2 separate regions of the Homo sapiens genome follow, and region 1 is linked to region 2. Evidence: promoter capture Hi-C in 16 types of primary human blood cells and fetal thymus (Javierre and others, 2016). All regions are on one chromosome and are shown on one strand. Each heading gives the region's core, a stretch centred on a gene start or on the middle of the fragment in contact. The rest is flanking DNA. Distances are from core to core; before and after follow the strand shown. Region 1 overlaps TIAL1 (TIA1 cytotoxic granule associated RNA binding protein like 1). Region 2 holds the start of SEC23IP (SEC23 interacting protein).

Evidence for each region. The method cuts DNA at HindIII sites, captures the fragments that hold promoters and counts their contacts. A CHiCAGO score of 5 or more calls a contact.
Region 1: a fragment that was not itself captured here is called in contact with the fragment with the promoter of SEC23IP in region 2 in 9 of 17 cell types (neutrophils, monocytes, naive CD4 T cells and 6 more); the score reaches 10.9 in neutrophils.

Annotation. Positions count from the first base shown.
Region 1 is chr10:119,589,035-119,594,996 of GRCh38, reverse strand. All of the region lies in intron 1 of TIAL1 (TIA1 cytotoxic granule associated RNA binding protein like 1), which reads left to right. Among named protein-coding and RNA genes, the nearest start is that of TIAL1, 4.9 kb to the left of the region's middle. The HindIII fragment of the contact is 3,532 bases long and covers 1,425-4,956 here.
Region 2 is chr10:119,887,486-119,894,315 of GRCh38, reverse strand. SEC23IP (SEC23 interacting protein) reads right to left here and starts at 1,586. Exons shown (of 19, transcript NM_007190.4): 1 at 1,371-1,586. The coding sequence starts at 1,533. RefSeq lists enhancers at 1,338-1,848, 1,849-2,359, 2,360-2,871, 4,672-5,210. The HindIII fragment of the contact is 6,362 bases long and covers 1-3,614 here.

The DNA.
Region 1 (5,962 bases), core at 1,941-4,440, 300 kb after region 2:
TTTTGTGTTGTCTTCCATTTCTGCCTTCTCTCCCTAGAAGAAAGAATTGGGACACACTTGAAATTTGTCCTTCAGGCCGGGCGCAGTGGCTCACGCCTGTAATCCCAGCACTTTGGGAGGCCGAGGTGGGCGGATCACGAGGTCAAGAGATCGAGACCTTCCTGGCCAACACGGTGAAACTCCGTCTCTACAAAAAACACAAAAATTAGCTGGGCGTGGTGGCGCGCGCCTGTAGTCCCTGCTACTTGGGAGGCTGAGGCAGGAGAATCACTTGAACCCAGGAGGCAGAGGTTGCAGTGAGCCGAGATTGCACCACTGCACTCCAGACTGGTGACAGAGCGAGAGTTCGTCTAAACAATTAAAAAAAAAATTTTATCCTTCAACATCTGTTGAAGCCAAGACTTGGTGTTGAGTTACAATGTGTACTTTGATATAAGCATCTGGGAAAGCTAGGCTTAAAGACTAGCTAACATGTATTTAACAAAGATAAAAGTTACATTGTATCTAAAAATCTGAAGTATCATCACACACTGAATGATTGATAAATACTCATGGCAGGGGTCTCATTTACTGTATCTGTTCCTTACCAAGAGGAATCTCTGGTTTTGTAGTGCTAAAGAATGTGCTTTTTTGATGTCTTTTATTTATCTTTGCATCTGCCTTGCCTTCATCCCTATCAGAGTTTCTCCAGGGGAATAATAAGCTAACTTCTTTGTCACTTATTTCCTTCCTCTACCTTCTCTAATCTCTTGTTCTTTCTTTGAAACAGTTAAGTTGTCTATGTTTACAGTTCTCTAAAACTGTGACATGTTCATATGAATAAATAAACATCTTAACTCTGTTGTTTTGTATGTCAGTACGTGTTTACTATTCTGTCTTCCTTTTTCCTTCTCCCACCCTTTTCCATAGGGCCTTTTTTTTTTTTTAAGAGAAGGACTACTACATCTTCCTAGGTCTTACCCCCACAGCACTTAGTTCACTGCCTGGAACATAAGAGGTACTCAGAATTTCTACAGTGATTATACTTCTTTCATTAAATTAGTATTAAGTTCTTTTTTAAAAGTCCTGGTTGAACTAAGATTGTAGGCAGACATTACTGTCACATGTGGTGCAGTCTGTTGACTTTTATATATTTTTTAAAACCTTCAAATGTAAAATCTTGAGATAAAAGCAAATGTTTAACAATTGGGATTTTTATTAGAGTTTAATACAAATAATGCATAGTTTTTCTAAGTGTACGTTTTACATATTCTCAAAGGGTTCTATTAGATATAAGTAACATGATGAAAACTGAACATGATTTTAGACGTTGATATCTAGTAGGGTTTTTTGTTTATGGAGATCTTATATTTTACATTGTGAGCTATGGATTAGGTTTTTCAAGTGGCCAGTATGTTTTAAAAGAATGTGTTCTTAACAAAGCTTATCTTAAATTGTTTCCTTAAGATGCCTGTGTGTTACTAGTGAGGTTTTTTTCCTGCAGACACACACAAGCTAAGACATATGGTTCTATCTTCAGAAAACAATATGGTGTTTAGAGCCTAGGTAGGTCTTTAAATATTCATTACCTACAGTATTACTAATTTATTTGATGGTATTTAAAGTGGCAAGAATTGCTTTGATGTTGAGCCTAAATTTCTATTTGTCATATAGTTGCTTTAAAGGTCTGTTTTCTGATGTTCTTCATTCTCATTTGACATTTATTTTGGGGTATTATGCATTGAGTAACTTGTGATCTAAAAAAACAAACAAGATCATGCTGTGTAATACTGGTGTTGGAACTGGACTGTCTGACACCTGCCTTGTGGGACACACATTTCAGGCTTGGGTTGTGTGTATCTTTGTAGTGCAGTGATTTGATCCATGGTATATCTGAATCTACAATATGACACTAAATTGTAATAGTGTTTTATTGTAGCTTATTTTATTTTCTTCATCTATCGGATGCACCAAAATTGCTAGGAATTCGTGTAATACCATGTTACACAATCCCTTCCTTTAAGGCTATTCTTTCTTCCTGGAAATAAGCTAATGATTTAGAGTATAATCTGAACATCTAAGAACAAAGCAGAAGAAAATTCTATAAACTATTACAAAATTGACTGGCTATACCATGGATTTGGCTATACTGTGGCTATAATCAAGCCCCTCATTCAAATTCAACTTAATCATATTCTTTGTTTCTTTAAAGTAAGAGAGAGAGAGTGAGTGTGTGTGTGTGTGTGTGTGTGTGAGAATATCTCATATATATAGTTGGTCAATTTAGTTGTACCTCCTGCAGCTATCTTCCATCATGCCTCCTTCCTAAAATGAAATACTGTACCGACAAATTGAACAATTAATTAGAGATCTATTGAAGGATATTATTGCAAAATCTCTTCTTGTATAGGACTTGTCAAGAACAAAAGCAAAACTATTATGGAAATTTAGCTATAGTTTTTTGTGTGAAAGTGCTGATAATTTCAGCCTTGGTAGGGCTACTCTTTTCAGAGTGAGAGCACATTCAGTGTTGAAAAAGTGTCATTAGTCTTCTGAAAGGCATGATATTCTTAACTTAAAATTCTGCCCAGTCGGACACAGGAAGTAGTTTGGCAATGTGAATTTCTGCCTACTGTGAAACTGCTAAGTTTTTAGCCCCAAATTGGATTTTAACCCTGATATTAGAGATAAAGGTGTCATTTTCAGTTTTTAATGCTTCAGTTCCTACAGTTCCTGTTCTTAGAAGACAAAATAGACTCTAAGGTATGCCTCTTCTGAATTTTTTCGTTGAGTTAAAAATCATTTTGGAATTTCCTAAGTGTTTACTCTTTGAATTGACCTCTCAATACAAAAATTAGAGCCATTTATCTTTTTTCTGTTATTTTGTGTATGTTCTTTAGGTAGCAATTATATATTTAAAGACTTGGATCTTTAGCTTGACTATTTCATAACCAGAGCAGAAAGAAAGTGAAGTGTAGAAGCTATAATTTGGAACGAATAAAGATGTCATTTCAATGAACTACCAAGAGATGATCTTACTAGGTCAGGCATTGAACTTTGTCTTAAATATTTTTGTTAGTATTTACTTTGGGACAGATTATTTTATGATACTGTAAAAGTACTTAAAATAGAATAGTACAGTATTTTAAAAGCTATACAATACGTCTCTCAAGTGTTATGATGCACGAAGGCAAATGTAAATGAAGAGGCAATCTGAAATTTGGGTACAAGAACTCAGTAAAAGAAAAGGCAGTCTGAAATTTGGGTAAAGTTTAGGTGAAATTATATAGTGAATCATGGCCTTTTAATCCTGGTAAATTAAGATATTGTATGTGTTGTTATGGAAGGCCTTTCATGTTAGTTTTTGAAATTTAGTTTGCTGCTTAACATTTAACTTTTAGTGGAGATAATTTGAAAAATAGGAAACCTTAATACTGGATTTTTAAATAAATATTTCATGACATTCTAAACTTAGATATTAACGTTTTCATCTTTGCTTTCAGTGCTAGAAATGTAAATTAATATATCTAAATATGCCTCTAGAAATTCTTCAAGATCTGTAACTGGCGGGAAATAGGTTGACTTAGAATAAAGATTTTTTTTTTTTTTTCAGATGGAGTTTCGCTCTTGTTGCCCAGGCTGGAGTGCCATGGCGCGATCTCAGCCCACTGCAACCTCCACCTCCCGGGTTCAAGTGATTCTCCTGCCTCAGCCTCCCCCAAGTAGCTGGGATTACAGGTGCCCGCCACCATGCCTGGCTAATTTTTTGTGTTTTTAGTAGAGACGGGGTTTCACCATGTTGGCCAGGCTGGTCTTGAACTCCTGACCTCAAGTGATCCACCTGCCTCGGCTTCCCAGAGTGTTAGGATTACAGGTGTGAGCCACCACACCTGGTGGAATAAAGATCTTATTAAGCAGTGACGGCTTTTTTTGTGACTATTAGATATAGAAGGTAACTAATTCCAATACAGTTTTTCCTGAAGAAATTGATGTTTAAACAGTAATGGAAATTTAAAACTATTTAAATCATTTAAAATGTGTTATATTAAAATGATAATTCTATTTTAATTTTGTTATTAGCTAGCTTCAATATGTGAAAACCAGTTTTATCCATCCTTCTTTTCTCTTAGAAGTGAGCTAACTAGCCCTTTAGGCAAGGAGCATAATGTTTAGAAGCTCAAGATCACTTGTTCGTTTCTTTCTTTCTTTCTTTCTTTCTTTCTTTCTTTCTTTCTTTCTTTCTTTCTTTCTTTCTCTCTTTCTCTCTGTCTCTCTCTCTTTCTCTCTTTCTTTTTTATTTATTTTTTTGAGATGGAGTCTCACTCTGTCGCCCAGGTTGGAGTGCAATGGTGCAATCTCGGCTCACTGCAACCTCTGCCTCCCAGGTTCAAGCGATTCTCCTGCCTCGGCCTCCCGAGTAGCTGGGATTATAGGTGCGCGCCACCATGCCCGGCTAATTTTTGTATTTTTTGTGGAGACAGGGTTTCACCATGTTGGTCAGGCTGGTCTCAAACTCCTGACCTCATGATCCGCCTGCCATAGCCTCCCAAAGTGCTGGGATTACAGGCGTGAGCCACCATGCCTGGTCACTTGTTCATTTTTCTTACAGATAGGTCTACTCTGTACAAAAAGAAATCATTTCAGAGATACAGGCTCACAAACCCCTATGAGTTAAGAAGGGGCAAGCAGCCTATCGCTGGCTCATAACCCAATAACCTTTTAGTCCTGCTGGAAAAAGTATGTCACTACATTGGCCTGCTGATGGATCAGCTCCTTAATTACGTGGAAAAGGTGGCATAGTGGACGTAAAACAGTTTGTCACTTGTTTAGTCCTCTAGTTAGGTAATATTGGATGTGTGTTTCAATTTTAGAGCAGGTACACTAAGATTATTAGTACTCATTGCAATAAAATTCTTAACTGGAAAATCGCTACTAATTCTTAATTGGATCTTTTAAGTTTTTTACTTAACCTAAGCTTTCTCAGTCTATTTTTCCCTTTGAGTATTCCATCTTAAAGCATGTTGTGTATTTAATGTGGCAGCTATGTTGCAAGTCTTATTTTGGTCTTAATACTCAGTTTCCAGATGTAATATATTACAAGTAGAAAAAGAAATCTACTTTCCAGAATGAACTTTGTTAAATTTTACAGATATTGTTTGGTTTATGAGGTTGTTCATAACAGATGCAAATTTGAGGAATTATGTGTAGAATACCAGAAAGACTTTAGTGTTTGGCAATTTATTTAGATAAATTAAGATAAATCCATAGTACAAGACATAAACCAAGGTGGTCCTCTCTGTGTGATGAAGTAGCATTTTTTTCTTTTCTTTTTTAAACTTTCCTGTATTTAAAATCTTTTACACAAAACACATTCAATTGTAATTAGGAAAAAAAACCCAAATTTTTAAGTGTCCATAGTCAAAAGTATGCCTGGATTTGTCTTAGTTTTTCTCTGAATTTCTTAAGAAATCTTTGTATTAGCTTTTTTATCTACATTAAGATATATTTTGTTGGCTGGGCATGGTGGCTCACTCCTGTAATCCCAGCACTTTGGGAGACTCAGGCAGGTGGATCACTTGAGGTTAGGAGTTTGAGACCAGCCAGGCCAACATGGTGAAACCCCGTCTCTACTAAAAATACAAAAATTAGCCGGGCGTGGTGGTGCACGCCTGTAGTCCCAGCTACCTGGGAGGCTGAGGCAGGAGAATCGCTTGAACCTGGGAGGCGGAGGTTGCAGTGAGCTGAGATCATGCCACTGCACTCCAGCCTGGGTGACAGAGTGAGACTCCATCTCAAAAAAATACATATATATTTTGTTGATTCTGATGCATTTTAGACTAGGAAATTTTATATTTTACCCTGCTCTCCTAAAATGAAACAGTGAAGACATCATTGCAAACAACCTTACTCAGCCAAAAACAAAACAACAAAAACCCTCCACCCTCTGTATGTTTTACTATAACTTTAATTCTGTTCTTTGTTC
Region 2 (6,830 bases), core at 337-2,836:
AATAAATTATTCACTGGAAACTCAGCATCCAAAGAGGATCTATGTACTAGGCCCTAAATAAGATCCTGGAGATAAAAAGGCAATTAGGTCATAGCTGCTGAAGAAGACTGCAGTCCAAATGGAGAGGCAGGTGTGTTTATTTCACAAACATTAAATCACACTGTCTGGCACGCACTATACTTAGCGCTTTGCAAAAATTAAAGCATTTCTAATTACAATTCTGTGAGGCTACACATACATAGAAACTGAAGCACAGAGAGGTAAAGTAAAATGCCTACAGTCACACAGCAAGTTACTGGCAGGGCAAGGACTGGAATACAGACAGTCTGTGCTCTTAAACACTATGCTCTGGGCAATGCTACATAATCATCAAAAAGCAATCTCCCTGGACAATAATACAAATATGAAAAAAGAGCTAGGAGTGCACATAGGAGTGGGGGCCTAAGAGAACAAGAAACAGCTTCTTGGAAGAAGTGATGTATTGTCTTGAAAGATGAGGAATGGGTGGGGGGTTAAACCTGTAATCCCAGCACTTTGGGAGGCCAGGGCAGGCGGATCACTTGAGGTCAGGAGATTGAGACCATCCTGGCCAACATGGTGGAACCCTGTCTCTACTACAAATACAAAAATTAGCCAGGCATGGTGGCAGACGCCTGTAGTCCCAGCTACTCGGGAGGCTGAGGCAGGAGAATCACTTGAACCTGGAAGGTGGAGGCTGCAGTGAGCCGAGATCGCGCCACTGCATTCCAGCCTGGGCGACAGAGCAAGACTCCGTCTCAAAAAAAAAAAAAAAAAAAAAAAGATAAGGAATGCATTGTATATGTCTACTTCACAAATATTACAGGCTTCTAGAAGAGGGGCACAGTCCATCTTATAAGATATCTTACTGTAACCTAGAAGATATTGTACTGTATCACAACAATCTCCTAGTAGGAGACAGTGTACCGTATCCTAGGAGAGGGGCACAGTCCATCCTAGGAGGTATCTTACCGTATCCTAGGAGTCTCCTAGTGGGAGACAGACTACTGTACCCTAGGAGAGGGCCACTGTTTAATTTATTTGCATTTCCTGCCAGCACCTGGCGTACCAACAACGGGTATTCAGCAAAGATTTGCGGAATGCCAGGGTACGAATGAATGTCCAGCACTCTGGACAACTCGGAACAGGGGGTTTCCGTGAAGAGCAAGTCTCATCACCTGCCACCTCCAAGATCCCAAAGCCCCCGACCCACTCAAACCTGGCCAGTAATGATCCTGGCAAGCTATCCAGAGGGTAGCTCGAGGCAGAAGGAAAAACTCCCGTCTGACCTTTGTCATTGCACGTCCCCCGCCCGCCTCCCACCACACACGGGGCCGCCCTCCCCTTATTACCTCCCGGTAAGAGCAGGGAGGCCGGAGAAGCGGAGGCCTGGGTGACTGGGATGAAGGGCACATTGAAGCTGAACTCCGTGGCCGAGGAGGAGAAAAGTAAGTTAGTGCCCGATGAGGAAGTGGAGGCGCCGCCGCTGCCACCGTTAGGTTTTCTCTCGGCCATGGCTGCGGCCCACCGTCCGATACACGTCTCCGGGTACCCGGTACCACACCACTGACCGGAAACCGATCACGCTCCTGGCCAGCGCACTTCCGCACTTGCGCACAGGAGCCGAAATTACGGGTAGCTAGTCAGCCGCCCTCTCCCTTCCCCTACACGGCGACGCCAGATATCAACATGGCGACACTGTCTTCACGCCCGCGTCTAGCACGTGACACCCTCGGAGGCGGAGGCCGGGCGGGAGGATGGGGACGTGGTCCCCGCAGGTTCTGGATAGACGTGCGAATTGAGACGCAATTGACCCTGAAAGTCACAGGTTGTGGCGGGTATCTATGGGCTTCCTAAAGGTACCGTCAGGATGGCTCTCCTGACAAAGATTTTGGAGGAACAGCGGAATCCTGCTGGACGCTACCGGAAGGAGGAAGGGAGGAAGAGCGTTGTGCGGGAATGGGAATTCGCATGCTAGGCGGAACCAAACACCCTCTCCAAAACCCACTTGTCTTTCTGGATGGAACCGAACATTGTGGTTGACCCAGAAATAGAAGTGGTAAAACATTTTTTAAGTGTTTAATCCATAGGGAGAAAAAAATATTTCGTTTTATTTTTGTTGTTTTTTGTTTTGCATTTGTTTTTTGTTTTTTTGGTTGGTTTTGTTTTTTGTTTTGAGACAAGTCTGCTGTGTCGCCCAGGCTGGAGTGCAGCGGTGCAGTCTGGGCTCATTGCAATCTCCGCCTCCCGGGTTCAAGCGATTCTCCTGCCTCAGCCTCCGAGTAGCTGGGACTACAGGCGTCCGCCACCACGCCTGGCTAATTTTTTGTATTTTTAGTAAAGACGAGGTTTCACCGGGTTGGCCAGGATGGTCTCAATCTCCTGACCTCGTGATCTGCCCGCCTTGGCCTCCCAAACTGCTGGGATTATAGGCATGAACCACCACGCCTGGCCAAAAAAAATATTTAAAAGAGAAATCAAACCAGACGCCATGGCGCAGGCCTGCAATCCCAGCACTTTGTGAGGCAGAGCGGGAGGATAGCTTGAGCCCAGAAGGTTGAGACCAACCTGGCCAACATGGTGAAACCCCGTCTCTACTAAAAATACAAAAATTAGCCGGGCTTGGTGGCATAGCACCTATATTGCCAGCTACTCAGGAGGCTGAGGCGGGAATATTGCTTGAGGCCAAATTAACCCTGATCTTGCCACTCACTGTGCAGCGAGACCCTGTCTCCTTAAAAAAAAAAAAAAGAAAAAAAAAGAAACCAGGGCATTGAAATTAGAGATCTGACATTTTAGATAGCTTTCTATATCCACAGTAAGCTGACTTACTTCAATCCAGGAGGTACTGTGGATAACTTGGACATAATTGTCATCTTTCATAGTTAGAGATTTTGAAGGAAAATATAACTTAAGCCATATTTCAGCTTCTTGGAGGTTGGGAGAGGAGATACCAAAAGAACGCTCAAAATAATGAAACTCTGCTCAGCTGTTTACACATATATAGAACCTAAGTTTATTAATTCAATAACGATTTCATGTGCTTACTGTCAAGAAAAATTTTTTAAGTGGGACACTCGTTAAAGCAGTAAATTAGATTTTATTTAATGAAAACTATTGCTAGGGAATTGGGTCCAGCATGAACTGAACACAACTTTGCTGAAACAAAAATTTGGAGGCTTTTTAGAGGCTGTGGTGTGCTAAGGGAAAGGTGCTGAGGAGTGTGAAGGGTTGGTTCGTCCTGCAACTAGGCCATCTGGGTGTGTTAATCCATGCTTATCCAGAGGAGACATAATTTTTCTGTCTTCATGACAAGCAGTGGTGTAAGAGAGCAAGGTAGCCACAGGGACTGGGAATGAGAATGAGAACCACCTCCTTGAAGGCTTGCAATTCAAGAGACAAACCCCCAGGTCCTTGAGAAGACAGTTCTCAGTGGTCATGTGTCCGGAGTTGGTTCCTTCCGGTGGGTTCTTGGCCTCACTGACTTCAAGAATGAAGCCGCGGACCTTTGTGGTGAGTGTTACAGCTCTTCAAGGTGGCACAGACCCAGAGTGAGCAGCAGCAAGATTTATTGTGAAGAGCGAAAGAACAAAGCTTCCGTAGCGTGGAAGGGGACCTGACTGGGTTGCTGCTGCTGGCTCGGGTGGCCAGCTTTTATTTATTTATTTGTCACTGCCCTCATCCTGCTGCTTGGTCCATTTTACAGAGCGCTGATTGGTCCATTGTAAAGAATGCTGATTGGTGCATTTACAATCCTTTAGCTAGACACAGAGTGTTGATTGGTGCATTTTTACAGAGTGCTGATTGGTGCATTTACAATCTTCTAGCTAGACACAGAGCACTGATTGGTGTGTTTTTACAGAGTGCTGATTGGTGCATTTACAGTCCTTCAGCTAGACACAGAGCACTGATTGGTGCATTTACAATCCTCTAGCTAGACAGAAAAGTTCTCCAAGTCCCTACTCAACCCAGGAAGTCTAGCTGGCTTCACCTCTCAATCCCCCCTCTAAAGAGGACACCCCAAGAGCTGTTGGGAATTGGGCAATGACCTCTGTAGCTACTTCCTGCTGGATGGGTTGAAGAAGGAGCCCTGCAGTTGTAGTGTCCTCCAGAGGGGAACTCTTTATGCCAGTCAAAGGGCCAGCGGGTTGGTGCAGGGGTCCTCAGTAGAAGTTGTTAGTTGAGCTCATTGGGGTTCCATTTGTAAGACCATCTGTAGCTTGATGGCCTCAATCCTAGAGGAAACAAATTTGACAAGGAGGTTAAAAATACAGGGCCCGAAGGTGAATAATAGCAAGATGGCCATCACAGGACCTAGAAAGGGGAAATGCCATATCGCCCAACTCCAGAGGTTGATATAAGAGTTTGAAAGGCGTTGTCTGATTTCAGAAGCCTTTTCCTGTAAACACCAGGCGGCACCTCATCCTATCCCTGACTGGTTAGTGTAAAAGCAACACTCTTCCCCTAAGAAGGTGCAAAGTCCTCCTTTCTCAGCAGTGAGGAGGTCTAGGCCTCGGTGGTTTTGGAGGGTCACTGCTGCCAAAGAGTCTATTTGGAATTGTAGAATAAGGATAGATTTTGTTATTTCTTGCAAACTGTCTGAGAAATCCTTTGAGAGTGTGTGGTAGTAGGATAATATATGTTACACTGTTAACTTTTAGCAAACTTTACTTTTGTTGAAAACCTTGTAAGTTTGGGATTTCAATTATTCTTTGTATTAATAAGACCTTGTTCAATCCATATTAACTTACAATTGGTATAGATGGCTTCTTCCTGATTCTGTGAGTACTTTAAGGTTTGGCTGAGTACTGATAGCTGGAGCACGTTTGAACAGACCAATTATTAGGCAATTTTCCTAACTCTGCTTCTACAAGAGTTTCCTTATCACTTACTGAATACTCATTGTGTCTTTCTCCCTTAATCGCTGGGGAGGAACCAGCTATAGTCCTGTCCTGAAGGGAGTTCCTCCTAGATCTGGTTGGACCTTTGTATGGTAATTAAGATTTAGATCCCCTGTTAGGAAACCTGCTGGGTTAAGGATTTTTGATAGGAAGGCTATGGGTTGTCAGTGGCCTCAGTGCTTTCGGGCTATGCCCTTGTTTACACTGACAACCAGGTGGTGTTGGAGTGTTACAGGGTCATGGAGAAGACCTTCAATTATCAATTATAGGTTTTAAATTTACTCTGGCTTTTAAAGGAATAGGGTACACTGTTTTTTCTTTACTACTTCTCTCCCTTTCTCTCTTTCTTTCTCTTTGACTTTCTGTCTCTTTCTCTCTTTGACTCCTTTTTTGTCTCTGTCTCTTTCTCTCTCTCTCTTCGACTTTCTGTCTTTCTCTCTTTCTTTCCTTCTCTCTGCTGGTCTTTCCCTGCTTCTGCCAGCCGCATATGCTGCTATGCTGCTGTTCTCCCCTCTCCTTCCCCTTTTTGATGGCTTCAGCAGTGTAAGACTGCCACCTCCTTGGGTTTTTGCACTGCATGCAACAACTCCATGATTTCCTTGTGGTATTTAGTGGGGGTTCCCCCGGAGGTTAGGAACTCCCTTTCTTTCCATATTGCAGCATGGGCATGTAGGATTAGATAAGCATAATTGCTATCTGTATACACATTTATTCTTTTTCCCTTTCTAAGGCTCAGGTAAGTGCCAGTAGTTCTGCTAACTTGGTGCTGGTCCCTGGGGGAAGAGGCTTACTTTCAAGTATTGTTACATCACTAACTATGGCATAACCTGCTCTTCGTATCCCATTCTCCACAAATGAACTTCCATCAGTATATAGGTTAAGGTCAGGATTAGCTAAGGGGACTTCTAAGCGATCCTCTTGGGTAGCATAACTCTGGACTATAATTTGTTGGCAGTCATGCTTGATTGGTTCTCCATCCTCTGGGAGAAAAGTGGCGGGATTGAGGGCCACACATATGCGTATTTGAAGCACCGGTCCCTCAAGAAGTAGTGCCTGGTATCTGAGCAGGCAGTTGTCTAATAGCCATAAACTTCCTTTGGCACCTAGTATGCCATTTACATCATGAGTAGTCCAGACAATGAGATCCTTTCCTTGTATTATTTTGATAGCCTCTGACACTGAGATGGCCACCATCACAACTACCCATAAACAGTGAGGCCAGCCTTTTGCTACTATATCAATTTCCTTACTTAGGTATGCCACTGGTTGTGGGGTTGTCCCTCAAGTCTTGAGTAAGGACTCCAAGAGCTATTCCTGCTCTCTCTGTGACATATAAAGAGAGGTTTTTGTCCTGTGGGAAGGCTTAAGGCTGGAGCTTGTACTAGGGCCTGCTTTAAAGTTTTGAAGGCTGTTTCTGCCTCTGGTTCCCATTCTACTAGATGAGTATTTGCCCTCTGGGTCTCCTTGATTAGAGTATAGAGGGGTCTGGCCATCTCACTGTATCCAGGGATCCATAGTCAGCAAAGCCAGTGATTCGAAGGAACCCCCACAACTGTTTAAATGTCTTAGGGTAAGGATAAGCCAGTATAGGCTGTATTCGTTCCTTGCTGAGGGCCCTGGTTCCTCTGGCTAAAATTAGGCCTAGATATTTGTCTCGTTATAGGCAGAACTAGGCCTTCGATTTAGACGCCTTGTACCCTTGATTAGCTAGAAAGTTTAAGAGATCTAGGGTAGCCTGCTGGCATGAGGCTTCCAAACTGGTAGCCAAAAGTAAATCATCCACATACTGAAGGACTAGAATGCCTAGACTTGAGAAGTGGCCTAGATCTTGGGCAAGTGCCTGACCAAACAGATGAGGGCTATCCCTAAACCCTTGGGGCAAGACCATCCACGTAAGTTGGGACGTGTGGT